Linked DNA regions of Homo sapiens: regions 2, 3 and 4 are each linked to region 1. Evidence: promoter capture Hi-C in 16 types of primary human blood cells and fetal thymus (Javierre and others, 2016). All regions are on one chromosome and are shown on one strand. Each heading gives the region's core, a stretch centred on a gene start or on the middle of the fragment in contact. The rest is flanking DNA. Distances are from core to core; before and after follow the strand shown.

Region 1 (5,692 bases), core at 2,032-4,531:
AAAGAGGAGATATGCTAGTCCAGGCAAGGATACGCTTAAAACCTACAGGCTTTAAAGCTAATACTGATTTTTGTTGTTATTCAAATAATGACAAGAACACATACAATTTTTCCTGCACTTCAAGGTAAGCTTTGTTAAAATGATAAGATATCAGGGGGCTCAAACATCGAATACAATATACGAATAAGGGCCACTTTCTAAGGCGGATTTTTCTACAGCAGGTTAAGCATTAAAGTCCCATTTACCACAAGCCAAAAATATCAATTCTGAGTGTGTAAAACCCACTGCATTCACACGGCAATCTTTATCATAGCTAGGAAGAAAACACGGGGGGAATCCTGTTCTGAGCTATTCCTTTATCTTATACAGAAGGTAGTGTTTTGAAGCCCAAAATGTGCAAACCACCTTCACAGCAACTTGATCAACCCACCAGCGGGAGTCGCCTCCTCCTGCTCCTGTTCCGTTGTGAAATCTTAAGACTTTGTGAGATTCCCAGTTCCCTGGCCATGATGCTACCGTAAGGGCTGGGTCTAAGAACCCTGGAGAACAAGAAGCGCCATCCAGAAACTGAATATTTCAAGATTTACACATGAGAACAACGGCTCTCAAATGGAAGCTAGCTTAAAATTATGTTAAACTCATAATATAATTAATAGTAACTTTTTTGCTACATAATTTTAAAAATTCAAAGTGATACCAAAAGTAACTATTATTACATGTGGGGTTCTGAAACCTTTCGAGCACACAGACAACCTACATGGTAGGGGCTGACCTGGACATAAGAAGGAAGTTCTTATGTCTGGACTGGCAGAGAATCAGCACCCTACTACTGCCTGCCCACGAGGAATGTGGCACCATCCGCAAGCTGCAGCACTGACTGCTTCCATGTGGGACTCAATCACCTCGAACACAGCCTGGCACAGAACAAGACACTTGATACATGTTCGATGAAGTCAAGACATCGTGATTCACTCTCCTCACTAGCACTTTATCTTTCTTTTACAGATAAGGAAACTGGGGCCCAGAGAGAAACCTGTGCAGATGCTGTGGTTAGTAATGGACAAGCCAGGCCACAAGACACTATTTTACCAAAGTGCTGCCATGTTTTTGTTTTTATTTTTGTGGGCACACAGTAGGTGTAAAATGCTGCCATTTTAAGGCAAAATAAGAAGTATAGCATTTTCACTTGAATAGAATTGTATTAACACAAAGTAAAATCCAGGCTGCTCACCAGCATTCACCTAAGATAAACAGCTTCTGTTAGCAAAAGGGCCAAAGCAGGTCAACTAAACTTCCCAGCACTTGGCAGTGAAGCAAGTTCCAGCTGGCTTACTGACGTCACCATTTGAACTTAACATTTCAAATGTTAACACAGAAACATTTACATATAAAGATCAAAGTTCTGAAGGATAAAAAGGCCTTGACAATAGGCGACTTAAGATGTATCCCATTCGGTAACTCTTCAGACAATTCTGAGTCTGGAAGAACAGGTTAAATTTGTTTGGCTTTTGTTTTAAGGAAGCGTGTCTGGGGAAGACTATCACTGCTGCTTTGTGCTAAAAGTGCTTTTAGTACTGGAAAATTCTACTTAAAAAAACAAAAATACTTTAAGTTAATGTGAGTTATAACTAATTTAGAGCATTTAACCACAATCCCTAAGTTAACTGAAATATTTCCTAAAGCCTCAGTAATATACAACTCTACCTGGCTTTTCGTAAAAGTTTAGGCAGTCTGATAATAAATCCTCAACCAAGCGCAATGAAAAATCTTGCTACTAATCACGGTGTGTGAATTTAAGGTAAAGAGCTACAAATAAATCTCTAAATAAAGTGTTAAGAAGCCTCCCTGCTGGTGTGAGTGAGGTGCAGTGTAGAGTACCCTCTCAGCGCCACCCAGTGCATTCTCAGTGTGTGCTGATGAAAACAAAAAGCCAAACTCTCTGACGATGCCCAACATACACACAAGGTAAAATCTATCTAATGACTACAGCAACAAATGGTGCGTTTAACCATTTCGGCCACTCACTGGCTGGAGAATCCTGGCTAAGTCACTTTCTCTGAGCTTCTATTTATCTTCTATACCAAGGTGGATAACAGCAATCTCTCCTTATGAGAAATGAGATATACACGAACTACTTCCTGTATAAAATATGTTAGATACACCAATACCAACAAGGCAAACAGAAAGACAAAAAAACCCTATGAAGAGATGGGGCTCCAAGCACTTGCTCAGCTCCTGTTTAAATTCTTTCTACCTTATCCGTTCTATTTGAAAAGGCATCTCAGCGTGCAAGGACCAGCCAAGGCCAGGGCAGGGCCCTCGGGGACATCTGGCCAGCACTTCAGGTTCTGGGGATGACTCAGGTGAGCCTCCCTCCCCAAGGGACCTCCTACACGCACACACACACCCCGAACCGGGGGCGGGCGAAGGAGGCCTGGCTGGTGGAGTCCTTTTCTGCGGCCCAGGCGTCGCAATATCCAGTCCCTCTCGTCCAAGGACGTGCAGGGTCTGTACTTGCCCAGTCGCACTGGGACTTCAAATTGGGGATGCAGACACGGCCCTGCTCCTGGTGTGCGCGAAGCCCGCTCAGCCGGCCAGCTCGCCTGCACGCCCGCCGCGTCCCTGGGCCCCAGGAGGGCCCCCGTATCCAGCTCCGACCAAACAGCAAGCCCGCAGTTGGCGAGCATCTTTCCCAGACCGGGAGCGGGGACAGAGCAGAGCAGACGGATCCGACCAGCGCACCACGGCGCCCCAGGGCCCTCCTACCGTCCTCGGCCCTCGGCCCCCCGTTCCCCGGCCACCGCGCGGGCTCCGCCGCTCCTGGGACGCGCACTGGCTCCGGCCCGGCGCCACCCTCTGCCCCTCTGTCACCCCGCACGGAGGCTCCCATCACCCAAGCCGCGCCCAGCCGTCGCCGCGCCGTTCCAGGAGGCCTCCGTCCTCTCCCTACTCCGCCCCGCAGGCCACACGGCGCCCCGGCCCCGCGCGCGGGCTGCCCCTCGGCGGCGCTTCCCCCCCGCGAGCCAGCAGAGGCGGTCAGCGGTCGGGTACCTGCGTCCAGTGGCGGCCCGTACAGCGCGAGTGCGGCCGAGAGCAATGCGACAACGACCGCGCCGGCGACGGCAGTTCCGGCCCCCGCGCGTGTGACCATCCCCGGGCCAAATGGAATCGACCTTACCTCGTCTGCAAGCCCGGATTGCCCCACAGCGAGGACCCAGGGCCATCGGGCAGCATTCCGGATTCCCAGCTGCCCCCGCGCCGTCGCCGGAAACACAGCCATTGGAAGCGTTTTCCGGTTTCCCGACCGCCTCCGCGCGGCTGTCGGCAGTGGGATCCCAACTCGCTCAATCACACCCGGTTCTAGATGATTGACAAGCGCGACGCCCAACCCGGCCTGGTCCCAGCTCTGGCCTAAGAGGTTCGGCTGGAAGGCAGGTTGAAGAGTTAACAACGATCTGGTTCAGGGTCTGGTTTGTGTTTATCGGCCCATTTTTAGGCTTGCGGCGTTATAGAAAATGATTTTGCTGGCAGGTGGAGTGCCGAGGCCCACTATGTGCCCCCAGTATAGCAGTCAGGTGCCTTTCTGCTCCAGGCGCAACCTCTGCCCTGAACCCCAAACCAGCTCGCTGCGAGGCCCCTTCGCTTTCCACCGTCTCAGGTCAGGGCAGCTCCATCACTCCAACGCTGAGGCCCAAACCCCTGGAAGGCATTCTGACCTCTCCTGCCCTCCCACCCACGCTCCTCCTGTGGCTGATGGCCTCTTACCTCCACTGCCGCCCTATTTGAAGCCACCGTCATGGTGCTAAAAGAAACTTGTGGGGCCAGGTGCGGTGGCTCGCGCGTGTGATCCCAATGCTTTGGGAGGCCAAGATGGAAGGATCGTTTGAGCCCAGGAGTTTGAGACCAGCCTGGACAACATAAGGAGACCCCCTTCTCTACCAAAATTTTTTTGGAAAATTAGCAGGGGATGGTGTGGCACACCTGTAGTCCAGCTACTTGAGAGGCTGAGGTGAAAGGATGGCTCAACATGTCAGAGGCCTTTTAACCAGAGCGATTCCATCTTGAATAGGGACTGGGTAAAATGAGGGTGAGACCTACTGGGCTGCATTCCCAGGGGGTTAGACATTCTTGGCCACAGGATGAGGTGGTGGGCACAAGATACAGGTCACAAAGACCGCACTGATAAGATGACACAGTAAAGAAACTGGCCCAAAGCCTACCAAAACCAAGATGGCCACAAAAGTGACCTCTGTGTCCTCATTGCTCATTATTTGCTGATTATAACGTATTAGCATGCTAAAGGACACTCCTACCAGCGCCATGAGAGTTTACAAATGCTATGGCAACATCAGGAAATTACTCTATATGGTCTAAAAAGGGGAGGAACCCTCAGTTCCAGCAATTGCCAACCTCTTTCCCAGAAAACTCATGAATAATCCCCTCCTTATTTAGCCTATAATCAAGAGATAACTATAACTATGTGTGGAGTTAGTTCCTGCCGGTGGGTTCATGGTCTCACTGACTTCAAGAATGAAGCTGCGGACCTTCACAGTGTTACAGCTCTTAAAGGTGGCATAGACCCAAAGAGTGAGCAGCAGCAAGATTTATTATGAAGAGGCCGGGCGTGGTGGCTCATGCCTGTAAGCCCAGCACTTTGGGAGGCCGAGGCGGGTGGATCACAAGGTCAGGAGATCGAGACCATCTTGGCTAACACGGTGAAACCCTGTCTCTACTAAAAATACAAAAAATTAGCCGGACATGGTGGCGGGCGCCTGTAATCCCAGCTACCCAGGAGGCTGAGGCAGGAGAATGGCGTGAACCTGGGAGGCAGAGCTTCCAGTGAGCCGAGATCGGGCCACTGCACTCCAGCCTGGGCCACAGAGCGAGACTCCACCTCAAAAAAAAAAAAAAAAAGATTCATTATGAAGAGCAAAAGAACAAAGCTTCCACAGCATGGAAGGGGACCCAAGTGGATTGCTGCTGCTGGCTGGCGGGGGTGGGGGGGTGGGGCAGCTTTTATTCCCTTATTTCTCCCCTCCCATGTTCTGTTTCTGCCCTATCGGAATGCCCTTTTTTCAATCTTTCCTGCAATTGGCTACTTTTAGGATCCTGCTGATTGGTGCGTTTTACAGAGCACTGATTGGTGCATTTTACAATCCTCTTGCTAGCTACAGAGCGCTCATTGGTGCATTTTACAATCCTAGCTACAGAGTGCTGATTGGTGCATTTTACAATCCTCTTGTAAGACAGAAAAGTTCTCCAAGTCCCCACTCGACCCAGGAAGTCCAGCTGGCTTCAAGTCTCATAAGTATATTCAGTCAAGCAGCCAGTGCCACTGCTCTGCCTATGGAGTAGCCATTCTTTTATTCCCTTTCTTAATAAGTTTGCTTTCAATTTATGGACTCGCCCAGAATTCTTTCTTGCACAAGGTCCAAGAACCCTCTTGAGGTCTGGATTGGAACCCCTTTCTGATAACAGAGTGAAACCCTGAACTACACCTACCAGACCAAACCAGTAAGGAGTTTAACTACAGTAACTGAGCTTTACTTCATGGCAGGAAACTCTGTAACCAGTTAAGCAATGAAGTTATAATCAAATTAGCTGTCTCCATCACACACTTCTGTTTCCTATAGGTGCTGTCAGATCAGGTTCCTGATTGGAGTTCTCTTATCTGCTCTGGTTTGGAGGGCTG
Region 2 (5,692 bases), core at 1,565-4,064, 240 kb before region 1:
AAGCACATGAAAAGATGCTCAACGTCACTAATCATTAGGGAAATGCAAATCAAAACCACAGTGAGACACCATCTCACACCCACTAGGATGCCCACGATGAAAGATGATTCGAGTTGAAGGACATGGATATTTTCTCTCACCACAATGAATTAAACTAGAAATAAGTAATAAAAAGACACTCGGAAAATCCTCATGTATGGCAAGTAAGATATACACATCTAAATAACCCATGAGCCACAGAAGATACCATGGTGGAAACTTAAAAGTATTTTGAACTAAATGATAATAAAAGTACTACATTTCAGTAGCTTTCAGGTTATAGCTAAAGCCTTGCATGAAGAGAAGTATGAATTTAGAAACATATATTATAGGGGAAAAAAGCCAAAATAAGCTGAGTATGCATTTTAAGAAGTTAGAAAAACAGCAGCATTTTAAACCCAAAGAAACTATAAAAATAAAAGAAGAAATTAATGAAATAGGAAATAAATGTATAATAGAGAAGATCAATTAAAACCATTACTTGGTTCTTTGAAATAACTAAAAAAATTAAACATCCATTGGTGAGACTGATCAAAGAAAAGAGGGAAGATTAAAAATTTCAAGACTGTAAAAGGTCATATAGAATCTTCCTCATTAAAATGATAAGAGGATATTATAAGCAACTTTTTAATCAATAAACTTGAAATTTTAGATAAAATAGACAAATTCCTTTAAGAAGTGCAAATTTTCAAAATATACACCAGAAAGAAATCTGTATAGTCCTAATTCTAAATTTATTGTCTGAAGGTACAATTTAAAATCTTCCCACAAAGAACTCTTTAATCCCAAATGAATTCGCCAGTAAATTCTTATAAACGTCTAACAATGAAATGGCAAACACAAATTCTTACAGAGAATAAGTAAAGAAGGAGCACTGCATATTTATTTTATGACACGAAAACAGCACTGATGCCAAAACCTGACATTTCAGGAGAGGAAAACTGCAAGCCAACTGTGTTAGGCCGGTTTTGCATCACTATAAAGAAATACCTAAGACTGGGTAATTTGTAGAGAAAAGAGGTTTCACTGGCTCCTGGTTCTGCGGGCTGTAAGGAAGCTTGGCTCCAGCGTCTGCTCGGCTTCTGGGAGGCCTCAGGGAGCTTTCGCTCATGGCGGAAGGTGAAGCGGGAGCAGGCACGTCACCCACTGAGAGCAGGAGCGAGAAAGAGAGGGAGACGGAAGGTGCCACACACTTTTAAACAACCAGATCTCGGGCGAACTGATTCACTATCTTAAGGATGCACCAAGAGGATGATGCTAAACTACTCATGAGAAATCCACCCTGTGATCCCATCGCCTCCCACCGAGCCCCACCCCTAATACTGGGATTACATCTCAACATGAGATTTGGCAGGACGAATATCCAAACCACATCACTAACCACTCACGAGCCTAGATGGAAACCGTGAGCACGTCAGGTTTATTCCAGGAATACAAGATGGGTTAACGTTTGGAAATTAACCAGTATAATTCATCACGTTAACAAGAAAGAAAAAAGAAAAATCATCTGATTATCTTAATCTGTGCAGAAAAGTGTTCAATAAATACACATTTGTAATATAAGAAAATGGAACTTTCTTATCCAAATTAAGGGAAACAACAAAAACCTTACAGCAGGCATCACACTGAATATAGCAAAATGTTGATAGTGTTCTGAGATTAGGAACAAACAAGAATGCTCACCTACCCACATATGTTCACCTTTTACTGGAGGTTTTTCCTGGTGCAATAAGGTGAGGAAATAAAAATGATTGGGTAGGAAAAAAAATTCTATTAGTGGATGATATGATTTTGTATGTAGAAAGCTTAAAAGACTTCAAATATAATTAGAATTAATAAGTGAGTTTAAATCATTTATGGGTGCAGGGTCAACATTTTTTTTTTGCGATAGGGCCTCACTCTGTCACCCAGGCTGGAGTGCAATGGTGTGACCAGAGCTCACTGCAGCCTTGACCTCCGGGGCTCAAGCAATTCTCCTACCTCAGCCTCTGGAGTAGCTGGGACTACAGATGCACACCACAACGCCCAGCTATAGGGTCAACTTTTTTTTTTTTTAGTTGTATTTCTATACACCAGTAACAAACAGAAACCTCAGTTTAATCAGGAACGCCAGTTTTAAAAACATCGACTATCAAATATATTTAACATAAGGTATGCAATAGTTCTGTGCAGAAACAGCATTATTGTGAGAAATAAATACTAAATAAATGGAGGAGATACTGAATTGAAAAGATGATGTCATAAAGAAGTTAGTTCTCCCTGAATGATGCTCAGGTAGCTGAAATTGCAATGGAAATAAATATCAATGGATTTTTACAGGCAGTTGTGTGGGGAATGATCTCCATGCAAGCATGCTCTCAAGGTCACTCTCAGATAGGTGATCCCAGAGGCCACAAAACACACAGCCTCAGAGCAAATGAAGACAAATGAACCCTTCACTTTATTACTCCCATTTAAAGCATGTAGTGAGAAGAAGGGGATGCTCTGGGCTCAGCACAAGCAGCATGCGGGCAGGGGATACAGAGGCCCCACCTGGAGTCTCTGCTGCCTCAACCAGACAGTCCCCTGACTGCCTGGGTGTGAGTCCAGGGCTTGAGGTTGGTCCTGGGTTGATGAAAACACTTGCTCTTGGACAGCACAGATCCAACCTAGAGTAACTTATGGAACAAGTGACCTAGTTCCTTCAGCAAATAAATTGCTGAGGAAAATGAGTAAAATATAGGGGTGAACTGATATTAAAAGAGCCTTAGGAGATGTGTCAGCCAACGGCAATGCAGGGAGCTTTTCTGGACCTCACTTCAAACAAACTAAAATCAAAGCATTTGTGAGACAAGTGGGGAAATTTGAACCCTAGATACTTAATGATATTAATAAATTATTGTTAATATTGATCTGTATTTTAGGAGTCCTTATCTTTCCATGATATGTACTGAAATACTTATAAATGGTGTTTGAAATTTTTGTAAAATTTTTTAACTTGAATTTTTAAAAAATAAGAGCTTTTGATCATCAAAATGCAATATTAAGAGAATAGAAGGGCAAGCCAGGAAATGGAAGAAACATATGTAACTGACAAGAAGATTGCATCAGGAGTTTATATTACAATCTCATATGTCAATTAGAAAAAGACAAACAATCCATAATAAAATATGTAAGAGGCTTGAACAGGCACTTCACAAAAAATGAACAAATAAATAGAAGTATCCAGTTGGCCAATAATCATATTGATGGATGATCCATTTCATCATTAAGTAGTGAGAGAAATGCAGATTAAACCACACCAAGGTATCACTTTACACCCACCAGAGCAGCTAAAATTAAAAACACTGACATTATCAAATGCTGATAAGGATATAGCAATGGGAACTCTAATACACCCTTGGTCAGAGTGTAAATTGTAAAGCCATTTTGGGAAACAGTTGAACATTATTTCCTGACATTTAACATACACTTCCCTGTGACCTAGCAATTCTCCTCCTAAACATTTATTTAACAGAGAAATATGCAGATCTGCAACAGCAGACATGTCCAAGAACGTTCATAGTTCCATTAGTCCCAACACCCTAAAACTGGAAACAGCCCCAATGTCCGTCAAAAGTAAAATGAATAGAGAAATTGTAGCATGTGCATACAATGGAATACGGAACTATAATGGAGTTATCTTTTAAGAAAAATGGAAGAAGTCCAACTATACCCAGTAATAAATATAGTCTTATAAGCATAAGGTTAAGCAAAAGAAGCTTAACACAAAATAATTTATGCAGTTCCATTTTCATAAAGACAAGTACAGGAAAGGTTAGGATATGCTGTAGTGTTCCCCCAACATAGGCTAAATGTCATCTGCCTTTTCAATGGTTTCTTAGGTTTCACAGGCTCCATTTCTTCACCATCTGATCTCTTCCCCCTGCACAAGCACCCCATGTGTCTGACCTCCTCACAGAAAACACCATTTCCTGAGTGTGGTCTGACCAGAGAAAAGCATGTGGTGACAGAAAAAAGCAGGTTTTCACACTGCTGATAACAACCTACCTAAGACTGGGCAATTTACAAAAGGAAGAGTTTTAATTGGACTTACCGTTCCATATGGCTGGGGAAGCCTTACAATCACGGTGGAAGGCAAGGAGGAGCAAGTCACATCTTACATGGATGGCAGCAGGCAAAGAGCCAGAACTTGTGCAAGGAAACTCCGCCTTATAAAGCCATCATATCTCATGAGACTCATTCACTATCATGAGAACAGCACAGGAAAGACCTGCCCCCATGATTCAATTACTTCCCATCAGGTCCCTCCCACAACATGTGGGAATTCAAGATGAGATTTGGGTGGGGACACAGCCAAACCATATCATGGTGGCTTTAAAAGGTGGAGTTTAATTCTCCTCCTCTTGGATGGTGGTTGGACTTCATGACTCATGTCTAATGAATAGATAGTGACAGAAGAGAAACTGTGTGGCTTCCACTAGGAAGGCTAGGTTATTCAAAATTTTTTTAAAAAATAAAGCTTCCACCTAGTTTTCTCTCTTTCTTGCCTTGCATACTCTGGAGAACCCAGCCACCATGTTGTAAGGGCACTCAAGCAGCCCTGGGAGAGGTCTACATGGAAAGCAATGGAAGCTTCCCACCAGAAGCCAATACCAACCCATCAGCCATGGAATATCCTCCAGCCCCCATCAAGCCCTCAAATGACTGCTCCTGGCTCTCATCTTGACTGCAATCTCACAAGACCCCCAAGCCAGAACAACTTAGGCAAGCTGCTACCAAATTCCCAAGTCACAGGAATCAGGAGAGCAAGTGTGCGCTTGTGGTTTGCATCTGCTGAGTTTTAGGGTAATTTGTTATCCAGCAGACTAATGCAGGTTTGGTCTGACCCAAGAGGGCAGAATGGCACCACACTGTACGGTGCTCTAAACGCTGAACGTTGAATGGCTGTTTTGGAGTCTATTTTACTGCCTCTCTTGTCTCCAGTCAAGGTCCCTGTCACCCAAAAGCCAATGTCAACATAAACATATCTTGTATTATGAAGATGAGCTTGATGGACCCACCACAGTACTTTAAAATCATCCCCTTCAAATTGCGTGTGGTCCACTTTAGTCCATTATTCTTCTGTCAGCGCAACTTCTGACCAGGACCTAGTTATTGGCAGCCCTCACCAGGAAGTAGTGCTGCAGAGTGTAGACAGGCACCGTCCTACTCCAGAAGGCGGGCTGTGCAGGCATTCTGTCCATCATCTTTCCTTGAGCACTGCTGCACGAGATCGGTAGGCTCAAAGTCAACTTTATTCTTGTTGTCATTTCTAAAGTGCATTCATCACAACGGGCAATCTATTCCCTGTGAAGCCTCCCAAAATTCACACTTCACCATCCATTCCACAGCCAAGTGCAACGACTCTTGGAACAAAGAGGGCAGGGAGAGCCAGGGAGGCCCAGTGCCTTTCATCCCATCTCTCCCCACAACGTGCTGGGCACACACACCAGACCGAACATTTGTGGGTGATGATCACCAAACGAAAACCTGAGCTCTCCGCATAAAAGGCAGTGGCCCTAATACCTGGCACACACATTTACTGGAGAGAAAGGAAACAGGAAATGAAGTTCCTGCTGAAAGAAAAGTGTTGACGTGAATGCAAGTTGTAAAATGGAAGGGCTTGCAGGGA
Region 3 (5,692 bases), core at 1,815-4,314, 220 kb before region 1:
AAATACCCACAGGTGTGGAGGGGCAGGCCCCCTTCAGTAAACTACAAATAACATCCTAAACCCCCCAACTGACTGAACGGACCCCTTTTTGGCCAATGGAACCCCAGAGAAACCTCAAAAACTGAGTTCCCAGCCATGATCAGGTGGGAGATTGGAGACGCCTCATTACACCCCCTTCTTTTTTCAGTTCAGACACAACTGACCAGCATTAACGTTAAAATAGAGATAGTAAAACTGATTGAATGAACTCTTTGTAACAATAAGATATCGAATTATAAACTAGACCTCAGGCCATGCCTGGCAAAGGTTAAGTCACCCACCCCTACACTTAAAGAGTAAGTCTATGTTCTACTCGCCACAAGGTATTTTTTTTAATTCCTTTTTCTCTAGCAGATAATCAAGCACTGGCCTTGAGTTAAGCAATGCTGAAGCAGCTGCAGCCCACCCACCACCAGACTCTGACTGACTGACTCCCAACTCCACCAGCTATAGCTACAGCTTTGATCGGACAAGAGACTGATTTCAGTAACTTTCTCCTGATCAGAGATCACTGACCATGGCCTGGTTCTGGCTGGTTTACAGAGGCTGCACACTCAGTGCCGTTAAGTCCCTGCCTCAAATTTTGACATACAGGTGAACATGTCATACATGGAACATATATGTTTGCTTATCATACATGCACAGAACTCCCCTTCATGAATATTCATAACCCCCTCTATATCTTGTTGAATATGTATACTCGGCCAGCCTACCCCACCCCTCCCTCCCTAGAAGTGCTTGCTTTCATTCTTTTAGCCTGAGACTGCACTTCCTGCTTGCAGGTTGTAATTCCCTTCTTAAGAAATACGGCTCTCCTTTCTAAATTTATAAAGTGTGTGATTTTAAGTTAACACCATGTAAATATGTTGCTTCTCATTACTCTTTGCAGAATAGTTTTAGTATGTATTGATGATTCTTGCTCAAGTTAAATATTAACGTGGTGTTTGCAAAATGTTGATTTTCTAACTCCGTCAGTCCTTCCAAATTTATTAATTGGCATTCTACTTTAAGTAATGTTCCCTCTTTCCCTCCTCCTTTACCTTCCTTCTTCTCTCCCTCCCTCCCTTCCTTCCTTCTTTCCTCTCTTTTTAAGGTGGATCATTAATTCTTATTTTGTTTAATGGTTTATACTCTATTACTGTTAGCATTCATTTTTATGTGCTTAATTGCCCCAGCTTTGGCCAGTAGAAAACGTCTCCAAGCTGACTTCTATGCCATTCTGACACATCCCTTTCATTTTTTGAGCATTTCCTACTTTATAGACCAAGACATTCCAGGCTTATCTTGTACTTGGCCCGTCTTTTCTCTAGAATCAGCCATTTCTCCAAAATGCCACAGTTCCTTTCACTATAGAATGGTGTTTAGAAATCAAGATCTGCATGCAAAATGTGCTCATTGCCGGGCTGCCAGTGTTTCTAGGCCCTTCCATTGGGAAATGCCACTTCTGACTCTTATTCCAAAAGTTCTTAATGATACCCATGGATCCTTCCTTGCCTTTTCCCATCCTGTAGTTCTCTCTCTTCAACACTGAGAATGCTGGCTTCTAATACCATCAATATGGTTGCTCATTTTTCTCAATTCTACAACATAGCCAAGAGTTTCAGAATCACTACACTGTACGGCAAAACATAAACCTGCTGAGATTTCAAGGTTTGCTTACAGTTTTTTTTTTCCCATCAAACTGAAGATATATAGTAAACTACTGTGTTCAGAAGTTGCTTAGATTAGTTGTTTTCCATCACTGTGGTTATGTTATTCACCTGAAATACAGTAAGTTTTATTTGTTTCTGGCTGTATTCAATTTAGAGTATTTCTCCCTATCTTTAATTATTTCATTTTATTTTCATAAGCATATGAATCATTAACCGCAATTCCAAAATTCAAAACTACAAACAAGATATATTCCCCATCCCTTTCACCCCATTCCCATCCACCTTTACACGAAAATCATTTCATTCATTTTGGGTTATCCTCCCTGTGTTGCTTTTTGCAAATATAGCAGGTATTTCAAACTCCAAAGCAAAGCACCATAGGGAGAAGTGGGATGGGTGTGAGTGGTGGCTGCCTTATGAATGGTGGCAGGGGCTCAAAAGTGAAAGGAGAGGAAGTGTGGCAGAAGAGAGGTGTTCTCAGGTAGACCAGTTTTAAGAAATAATACATATGTGTGTAGGGTTCCCCTAAAGCTCTCCATGCCTGTGAGGCCCAAGAAAACATGTTTCCCCAGAAGTTGGTGGGTGCTCAGCCTAAGGACCCACAAATTAGCAAGAGAGTTGTCAGCGACCAGGGCCCACGATACAGAGGCTTTCTTCCCCTCTATTTGAGACTGTCCTGGCCATAGGGAATTGATTCCACACATTTGGCCTCCCAAGTGCCACACAGGGGCAGAGCAATGCCTCCATGCCTAAGCTTCTCAACCTTTAACGTGCACAGCAGTCCCGAGGAATCCTGTTAAAATGCAGGCTGGAATTCAGCAGGTTTGGAGCGCCCCTGACAGTCTGCGGTGCTAACAAGCTCCCAGGTGGCACTGATAACACTCATCCAAGAACCACAGTTCACATAGCAAAGTAGAGCCCTGGGTCTCAGGTTTGGCTGCACATTGGAAACATCTGGAAGCTTAAAAAAATACACTGGTCTCCACAGCCCGTGATTCTGACAGAGGTGGTGTAGGGTGCAGCTTGAATATCAGAACGTTGTCGTGATTCCCCCGGTGAGACCAAGGGGCAGCCAGGTGAAGAACCCTGCTCTGGAAACCAAATTTGGGAATTATTTTATTATGTGTAACTTTCCATCAAATGTTGACCTTTGGTGAAGGGAGATAACGTGTCAACAATTTCTGCTGAACTGCATTGCTCCCTGAAATTCCTCCTTCCACCCAAATGAGGCTGTAATAGGAGCTTCAGGATGGAGAACATCAATTCTAATAAAGGAACATGTTTGGCCTCAAATTGACACATTTTGCAGCATATTGCTATTAGGATGTGTTTACTGACTCATTTGCCATAGATAACACTTCTTTTACAATGATGAAAAATCTTAAGCGTCTGCCTTTTTGTCTAACAATGAGTAAATTAAACATTTTCATAAGGAGGAAGGGCAAGTGTTCAGTGACGATTCTGACATGGTTTATGGAAATAATTCTTGGCTCATCTTCCTAAAGGTGCTCTACCAGGTGTCCCGTGTGCCTGGATAACCTACCTGCATTGAGATTGTGCACACACACACACACACACACACACACCGCGGCACAGAAACATACATAAGACACACACATACACACAACACACAAAAGCAATTGTGTTCTAGCCTGGTGGAACAACCCATGTCCACCAGCCTGGTGGCCTCCCGCAAACCACATTTACGGCAATGATTTGTTGAAATGGCGCCACCAGTATCTTGAATTCCCTTGCCCTTAAAGAAAAATGTCCCAGTAAGCTTTTGATCCACCGTGGAGGATCTGTAATTTGGAACCATTAAATGTATCTGTCTTTTTCTCCAAACTATTTCATGTTCTTCATCATGAGACTAACAACATGACTGAGCCGTCATGGTTCTAACTCCAGTCATAGATATTTCTGGAAAAATGCTTACAACTTGAAATGGAAGGTAACCTTGAGCACAGTTATCGTACTGTGCTCGGTGCTGGAACGTGGTGTTGCCGGGGCTATTTGTGCTTGGACCTTAGATGAAAATTCCTGTTTAAATAAATATTCTTAACTTTTTTACATTATTTCAGTCCTTGACTCTTCATCAAAAGCAAACAAGACTCTTAACCAAAAGTGGAGCAAAACTGTGCATTTGTTAAATAGCAATATCTTTGCATCTGTTATTTCTCATTTTGGCCAAAAGACCCAATTTATGCTACATCCATTCTCCAGACATGTAGAATTACCTTGCTTGTACATAACATTACCATGTGGGATGTTTTTTAATGCTTTTGAAGTCTGTGCCAATAAAATGCCCTCAGCTTACAAGCAGGTGTGGGCACAGGGCAGAGACAGCCTGTGCTCAGCCTCCTGTCTGGAGCCTCAGTTTGCTGTGCCCGTTGGGGCCAGAGAGGAGAGAGGGCTGCCTGGCCTGGTGAGCCATGGTCTCCTTTCCTGGCAAGGTTCTGCTCACTGCCCTCAGCCCAAGCTGGACCACGCAGTTCCTCGCATTCTCCTGAAGGACTCTGCTTGCAATGCAACTTAGAGTGCTGAATTAGCTTCCTGGGGCTGCTGTAACAACGAACTGGGGGGCCTTAAAACAACAGGGATTATCATCCCCCGGTTCTGGAGGCTGGAAAGTCTGAAGTCAGGATGTCAGCAGGGCCGCCTCCCTGAGACTTGGAGAGTCCTCCACAGCCCCTCCCCAGCTCCCGGGGCTGCCGTGAGGCTCAGGGTTCCTTGGCTTTAGATGTGCCGTGTCTATCTCTGCCTCCATCTCAGGCCTTGTCCCGTGGGAGTCTTCACACAGGGTTCTCGCCTCCCCATAAGGACATCATGCTGGACTAGGGCCCACCCTCATGATCCCCATGACTTCATCATGTTTGCAAGACCCAATTTCCAAATAAGCTCTCATTCACAGGTACCAGGGTTTCGGGCTCCAGAACCCTGGTTTTCACGGGACACAACTCAACCCATAACAAATACCAAGTCTGGGCTTTTCCAAGCTGTGAAAACCCCACTGCCTCGGCTCCAAGTTCATGCAGCATCCTCCGCATGTCAATCAAAGGGGACCCTCTTCATAGCAACCAACAGACCAGCGCCTCTGTGAGGGTCTCTCCAGGGAACACCAGGGTGGTGCCGCCTCTCATGTGCTCTTTCTCCCCTGCCTTCCCACAGCCCTGGGAGGACACTCTTCTTCCCCATGCTCCTCCCCAAGCCCAGCATCATCCTTGATCCTCGTCACCCTTCCTCCCCCCAAGGCACCTTTACCTCCTCCCACAGAGCCCCTTGGGTGATATGAATCTCTCCTCTCCCAGCTCCCAGGCCCCCACCTCTGGCTGCTGTGAGGTGGGGAAGGAGCCTGATCTCCCGCTTGGGCAGTGAGGGAGGGAGGAAGCCGTGATTCCTGGGCACTGATTTTTGTCCCTGCCACCCACGCCACAGAGACAAACCCTGGTTATTTAATGAGGCTGAGGACTCCTCAGTGGGAGGACAGCCCCTCAGGGAGACTGAAGCCCATCACTGCCCACTCGGCCTCCCAGCTCCCTCCCTGGATGGCCCATCCTGCCTGCTGCCTCCCGCCGCCTCGCCTGGGGCCTGCTGGTGTCCACCGTGGTCATCGCCATGGACAGGAGGGGCAGAGGCATGGTGAGCCCCTTGTGGCCTGGTTTCCCTCTTGGTTTTCCTCTGCCCTCATCCCCTGGGTGAGAAGAGCCTCCTGGCTGCCATCCACCCACTCCACATGCACCTCTGGGTGGTTCCCTCGCTGTGTCTGCAGGGACCAGGCACCATGGCCTGGGGGTTCACACAGCAGAAAGCTCCTGCACAGTCTAGAGGTGGGGAGGTGAGATAAGGGTGTGAGGAGGGCTGCGCTCCCTCTGGCTAGGCTTGGGAGGTGAGCTCACCCCAGGGCTGAGAGCTGGGCAGAGGCCTCCATGGGGGGCTGTGGGGGGCAACTGCATGGCAGGGGCAGGGGCTGGGCCACAGGCTGGGGAGAACCTGTGTGGGGC
Region 4 (5,692 bases), core at 1,479-3,978, 190 kb before region 1:
TTCTCTTTCAGATGATAATACACTTCTCCCACTGATTTCAAATGCCACTTTATTACGTAATAATATGGCATCTATTTTCTGGACTTCCTAGGTAGTTCCATCCCTCTATTCATGAACTAATGCCACATTATAATATGTTTTAATACATGGGAAACTTTATTGTTTTATTTTTCAGTATTTTCCTGGGTTTTCTTGATTGCTTAATATCTATACTACTATTTTAAATAATTTTCTATTTTCAAAAATTATATACTCACATAGTTCAAAATAAAAATAAATCAAAATGAGAGCCAATGAAATAAATCTCCCAGTCATTCCCCCAGTCATCCTATTTCCTTCCCAGGGAGCAGCCAATGGACTCCATTTCTCCTGCATCTTTCCAGAGACAGTTCATGTAAATCTCATATGTATGTGTCTTATAAAGTTTATAATTGGTTTTTCTCATTTTAAAAAATCCTCAACACTTCTCGTATTTTAAATGGGATCAAGCTTAACTTATAAATAAACTACAGAGAAGTGATTTCTGTATGATGAGGTAGATTCCTACCCGTGAACATACTATGGTTTTCCACTTGTTTTATCCTCTTCTTTATCTTGAAGTACTTTGAAGTAGTAGTAATATCCTGCAGTATTCCGAGTAGTTGTTGTTATTATAAAAGTTGTCCTTTATTCCATCAGATCTTCTGTTTGTAGTTGGCATAAATGGTTGTTAATTTTTGCCTATTAATTACACATATAATACATGAGATCCTACCCACCTTATTAAATTCTCTCAATTGCATGAAATTCTAATTAAAACAAGCTGCCGTTCTAGGACTCTGATGCCTTCTGTGTAGGGTGGCAGGAACGAATAAACAAGGAATGATTACATCTTGGAAAATACAGCACTTTACTGGCAGTCATATTCTGAGAACAACATACCACACAAACCAGGAGACCCCCAGGGACCCCCTGAGATCAAGCCCTCTCTGGCACACATAGCCCACTGCCCACTGTATCATAAGATTTGGTTTTTGCAGTTTGACCATGGTGTGTTTAGATTTCTTCTTATTGAGGCTGCTTAGGTTTTGTGGAGTTTCTTCAGACCTGCAGTGATTATATATAGCAAGGTTTGAGAAGAAACAGAAATGGATACTCTGAGTCATTTTGGAAAAGCTTACCAGGATCCTCAAGTTCTTTCCCTAGAAAGGTCTTGAAAAATCAATATAAATTCTTGACCACGTTTTTGGGTTACTTCCAACTGGAAAATCAGGTACTTTTTCTGGGCTCTACCAATGCTTCGCTTATTTTATGGCAATTTTTTTTTTTTTGTCTCTCCATCTGAACCTGTGCCAAGCCACCAGGCACCACTGCTCTCCAATGTCCACTTAACGAATCCCCCGCAGCTTGGACAATATTCCACAACCATTTCTTGGAAAGTGTATCATGACTTCTGCCTAAAAGTAACTTTTTATGTGGTGAAAACTTAAGCATATGGTTTGTCATTGGCACAGCTTTCCTTGGTCATGGTCTAATGCAGACCAAACTGGAAATAACCAAAGTTAGTGATTCTATTTGGTCATCCTCAAATGCTCAAGTGAATGAGGTCTTTTAGTGACAAAACTGCCAATGGAGGTAACAGCTACTCGCACATCCTTGACCAACACAGGATCCTCTCTCCCTGGCACCATCATCCTCATTGGCTTGTTCTCAGCTTCAGGAGATACTTTAGTAGCAGAAGAGGAGGGGGACCAGTCAAGCCAGGGGCAGGGCATGGGTTGGCAAATGGAGTTGAACAACTTGGGCTGTCTGTGTATGGACAATGGCCTCTCCCAGCCACATGTTCACAGCCCCCACCTGCCTGGGCCTAGGTCTCAGGTTCCCCTCCAGGTCCTGGTGCAGCCACTGTCCAGCACCATATGGGGCAGCCTCCCCAGATCTGGAGGGGGCTCCACATGCATTTGGGAGCCACACACACTCTGTCCTCTTGGACAGTGTGAGGCTTGTGTGCAAAAGCACCAGGACAGGTATGCCTGTGCTTGTATTAGAGTTTCAAAGCAGTCTCAAACATACACCCTGAGCTGCTCAGAATGGTAGGCATTCATTTATTTATTTTTGTTTATTTTAATCTAGGACAGCTGCAGAAAAAAATATATTCTCAATGCTAAATATACTCTTCCTGTTTAAGTATGGGTTAAGTTACAGAAGCAAACTAAAGTCCTCCTTCATCAGAAAGAAGGGAGAAGAAGAAATGAAAGAATCAAATGGGAATAGGCCTATGTGCTTTAAACACACATGTGATCTCATTTAACTTTCTGGATGGCCAAATGAAAAGGGCATTTTACTCTATTTTACAAATAAAGAAACCAAGATCTAGAGTAGTTTAGTGACTTGCCCAAGAAAGTAGGAGAACCAAGATATGAGCTCAGGTGCATCCAATCACAAAAACTTCCCAAGACTCCATTACAGCTTTTTAATAAGTTCTTTTGCATATGAGCAGAGAGATAAAGAACAAATACTTCCAAAGCAGAGGCAGTCCCAAGGCACCACTGAGAGTTTGGAAAGGGACCTCCAGCCACTTCCCAGGGGAATTTTGGACCCTGGCACCACTTCATAGGGAAGGTCTGAACCCCGGTTGTGCACCTTGGACAGGGGGGCTCTGAGCGCCCTGCTGTTTTGTCTGTCGCTGAACCTGGGTGCAGCTTTACATTCTAGGCTCAAAAACTCACAAGCACTAGGTCAAGCCATTCCGCATGAATGTCCAGCTGGCCTTTAGGAAGCAGGGCTGGTGCAAAGCAATTCTTCCTGTGTGGGGATGCCTGGCACTTTCTAAAACCTCCATCACTCCTAGCCCTGCCCACCAGATACCCTACCTAGATACCAGCAGCACTGCCAATCATCAAGATGGCCAAAGTGTCTCCATAGACACCAAACAGCTCCAAGGAGGCAGAACTACCCCTAGTAAGAGCCACCCAAGTGAAGTATTAGCAACAGAAATGAAAAAGTAGACTGATGGCTGGACCCAGTAGCTCATGCCTATAATCCCAGCACTTTGGGAGGCTGAGGCTGGGGGATCACTTGAGACTAGGAGTTTGAGACCAACCTGGGCAACATACTGAGACCCTGTCTCTACAAAAAAAAAATACAAAAATTAGCTGGGTGTGTTGACAGGCACCTGTGATCCCAGGTACCCAGGAGGCTGAAGCAGGAAGATGCCCTGAGCCCAGGAGGTCAAGGCTCCAATGACCTGTTGATCACACCGCTGCACTCCAGCCTGGGTGACAGAGCAAGACCCTGTTTCCAAAAGATAAAAAGGAAAAAAAAAGTAGACTCAATGTTTTGTAGGGACCTCTTAAGAGTTGTGTGACCTTAAGAAAGTTACATTAGTTTCCCTTCTGAGCCTCAGTTAATTTATCTGTGAAATGGGGGCTAAGAATCACCTCTTCTCCTCCTTCATTAGGTTAGTATAAATACCAAGAGTGACTTTTGAACTTTAAACCCTGCTGCACCCTCCAAATGCCTGCAAGGCCCCTGAGCCCTGACCCACTTTCCCTCTCTGCCCACAAGATCATAGGCATGGCTCCTGTCTCATTTTCTTTGGCACAAAATTCTATTCATTTGATGGTTTAGAAAGCAACCTAATAGGTTAAATAATACTTCAGCATAAATAGATAATAGCCACCATCTCTTCCAAAGCGTAACTGCATTCTAAGAAATGGCTCCCAGAGGCAAATCTACTACACCCAGAAGGAGATTCTCTGAAGTGGCTGTGCAGAAGTAACTGGGTGTCTGCCGCACCTTGGGTCAGGAGATACACCATCCAGTGGGCAGACTTGAGATCGGAGCAGCGAGCTCTAGGCTTGGCCCAGCTCAGCAGCAGTCAGCTTCTCTGTGCCTGGGTCTCCTTTTCCGTAAAATGAGGGTAAGCGCCGTTCCATCTAAGAGTACCTGTGATGAGATGAGCCAGCCATATGAAGGTGCTTTACAAATGTGAAGCAGTAATTAGGATTCATAATGCTCTCCTGCATGAGGAATAAACTACTTCACATGCTAGGAAGAACGGCCTTGCTACTCTAGGGAATGGCTCAGAGGAGGATTGTGTGCTGTTTATTTGTCGATGTAAATTTACAGGTCCAACTTCTATCTGTTGGACACCCAGCATGTGAAGGCACATTGGCAAGTATTCCTTTAAGGGTCACTGCTGATTTTACGATTTCAGGCTGCATGTCAAGTGGAAAGTCCATTTTAGAACACACCGTGAAGCCCTGAGGACAGTCTCCATTCTTAGTCACAACCATGACATGAAAAGAGCCAAAAGCTTTGGTTTCCAGTCCCGGCGAATCCCTCACTGCTTTGAAAACACAAATACATTTTTTAACTTCTCTAGATTTCGGGTTTTCTGAACTAAAAACTAGGCACAACTATTGCCTGAAAAATAATACCTGCATCTCATTGTTGTGAGAATTAAATGAGATAACGCATGTAAAAATTCACTCTGCAGTACAGTCAGATAGTATTTGGTTTACCACCTTCAGTGCAGTCATTTATAACATTTTTTTAATCTTACACCCCTATCTGTGAAATGTTTGAGCAAACCCACCCAATGCATACATAGGTATCTATAAACTATACGTACCACCATGCTGGCATATTATGTATATTATAAAACAATAAAATGTCTAAAGTATGATTTAAAGATTAAACTAATAGTACTCTAAAATAATTTTATATTATTTGTCATATTAAAACCTTTTATGCTCACTAAAATATTACTGTTCTTCATGATATTTTTAGTGGAGAGCAGTGCGATTGAACACACCTCACTATTTTTGAGAATCTTACTTTAACATTTTCTGATACAGCATCTGAAGGTCTGACTCTCAGTTCGGTTAATTTCAGTACTTGATTTTAATGGCTGTCAAACTGATCTAAAGTACTTCTCAAAGAAGCACAGATCCAGATAGTAATGAATAATTGACTTATTGAATCGTGTTACTTATGTTTCAATTTCATCTTCCAATTATGTAAACATTTTTTGTTGAAACTCAGCTGGTAATATCTTCCCTGATATCAATTAGCTGTTCTGGCAAACTAATCAGAAGGTTTACATTTTAATACGGTCATGTACCACCTAATGATGTTCTGGTCAACAACAGACCACATATACCACAGTGGTCCCGTAAGATTATTATACTGTATTTTTCCTGTTCCTTTTTCTATGTTTAGGTGTGCCTAGATACACACTTACCATTGTGTTACAGTTGTCTACAGCATTCAATACAGTCACATGCTAAACAGGTTTGTAGCCTCGGAGCCATAGGCTGTACCATCCATACTATGTGTGGTACATACATAGTGCAGTGACACACAGCCTACTGCACACCTGTTCAGGTTCGTGGCCTAGGAGCCATAGGCATACTAGGTGTGCAGTAAGCTGTATCACTAGGTTTGTGTAAGTGTACTCTGTCATTTGCACAGTGACAAAATCACCTAAGGACACATTTCCCAGAAAGTATTTCCATCATTAAGCAATGCATGCTTGTGTTTTTTAACAAATGGACTTAAACTCACCGTTGTTGGGAGGATTGTTAGATAAGATAGAAAATGATATCGCTATTTTTTCAAGTATGCAGACAGGAACATTTTCACAGGTGACATCCATTACTTTTAGCATCAATAAAAATTTTAGCCCATCTGCTTTCAAGTGGTTCTC

What was found. The method cuts DNA at HindIII sites, captures the fragments that hold promoters and counts their contacts. A CHiCAGO score of 5 or more calls a contact.
Region 2: a contact is called between a fragment that was not itself captured here and the fragment with the promoter of NAXD in region 1, in 2 of 17 cell types (naive B cells and endothelial precursors). The highest score is 6.5, in naive B cells.
Region 3: a fragment that was not itself captured here is called in contact with the fragment with the promoter of NAXD in region 1 in 4 of 17 cell types (endothelial precursors, total CD8 T cells, naive B cells and 1 more); the score reaches 6.6 in endothelial precursors.
Region 4: a fragment that was not itself captured here is called in contact with the fragment with the promoter of NAXD in region 1 in 6 of 17 cell types (naive B cells, total CD8 T cells, endothelial precursors and 3 more); the score reaches 5.8 in naive B cells.

What each region holds. Positions count from the first base shown.
Region 1 is chr13:110,613,134-110,618,825 of GRCh38, reverse strand. NAXD (NAD(P)HX dehydratase) reads right to left here and starts at 3,281. Exons shown (of 10, transcript NM_001242882.2): 1 at 3,179-3,281. The coding sequence starts at 3,224. NAXD-AS1 (NAXD antisense RNA 1) reads left to right here and starts at 2,473. Exons shown (of 1, transcript NR_182301.1): 1 at 2,473-5,692. RefSeq lists enhancers at 2,252-2,301, 2,322-2,371, 3,273-4,200 and silencers at 2,652-2,811, 2,822-3,071. The HindIII fragment of the contact is 4,814 bases long and covers 132-4,945 here.
Region 2 is chr13:110,855,892-110,861,583 of GRCh38, reverse strand. No RefSeq gene overlaps it. Among named protein-coding and RNA genes, the nearest start is that of PRECSIT, 12 kb to the left of the region's middle. The HindIII fragment of the contact is 1,935 bases long and covers 1,847-3,781 here.
Region 3 is chr13:110,831,578-110,837,269 of GRCh38, reverse strand. LOC105370363 (a long non-coding RNA gene) reads right to left here. Exons shown (of 2, transcript XR_007063874.1): 2 at 2,795-5,692. Among named protein-coding and RNA genes, the nearest start is that of LINC00567, 21 kb to the right of the region's middle. The HindIII fragment of the contact is 819 bases long and covers 2,655-3,473 here.
Region 4 is chr13:110,803,866-110,809,557 of GRCh38, reverse strand. No RefSeq gene overlaps it. Among named protein-coding and RNA genes, the nearest start is that of LINC00567, 6.4 kb to the left of the region's middle. The HindIII fragment of the contact is 3,142 bases long and covers 1,158-4,299 here.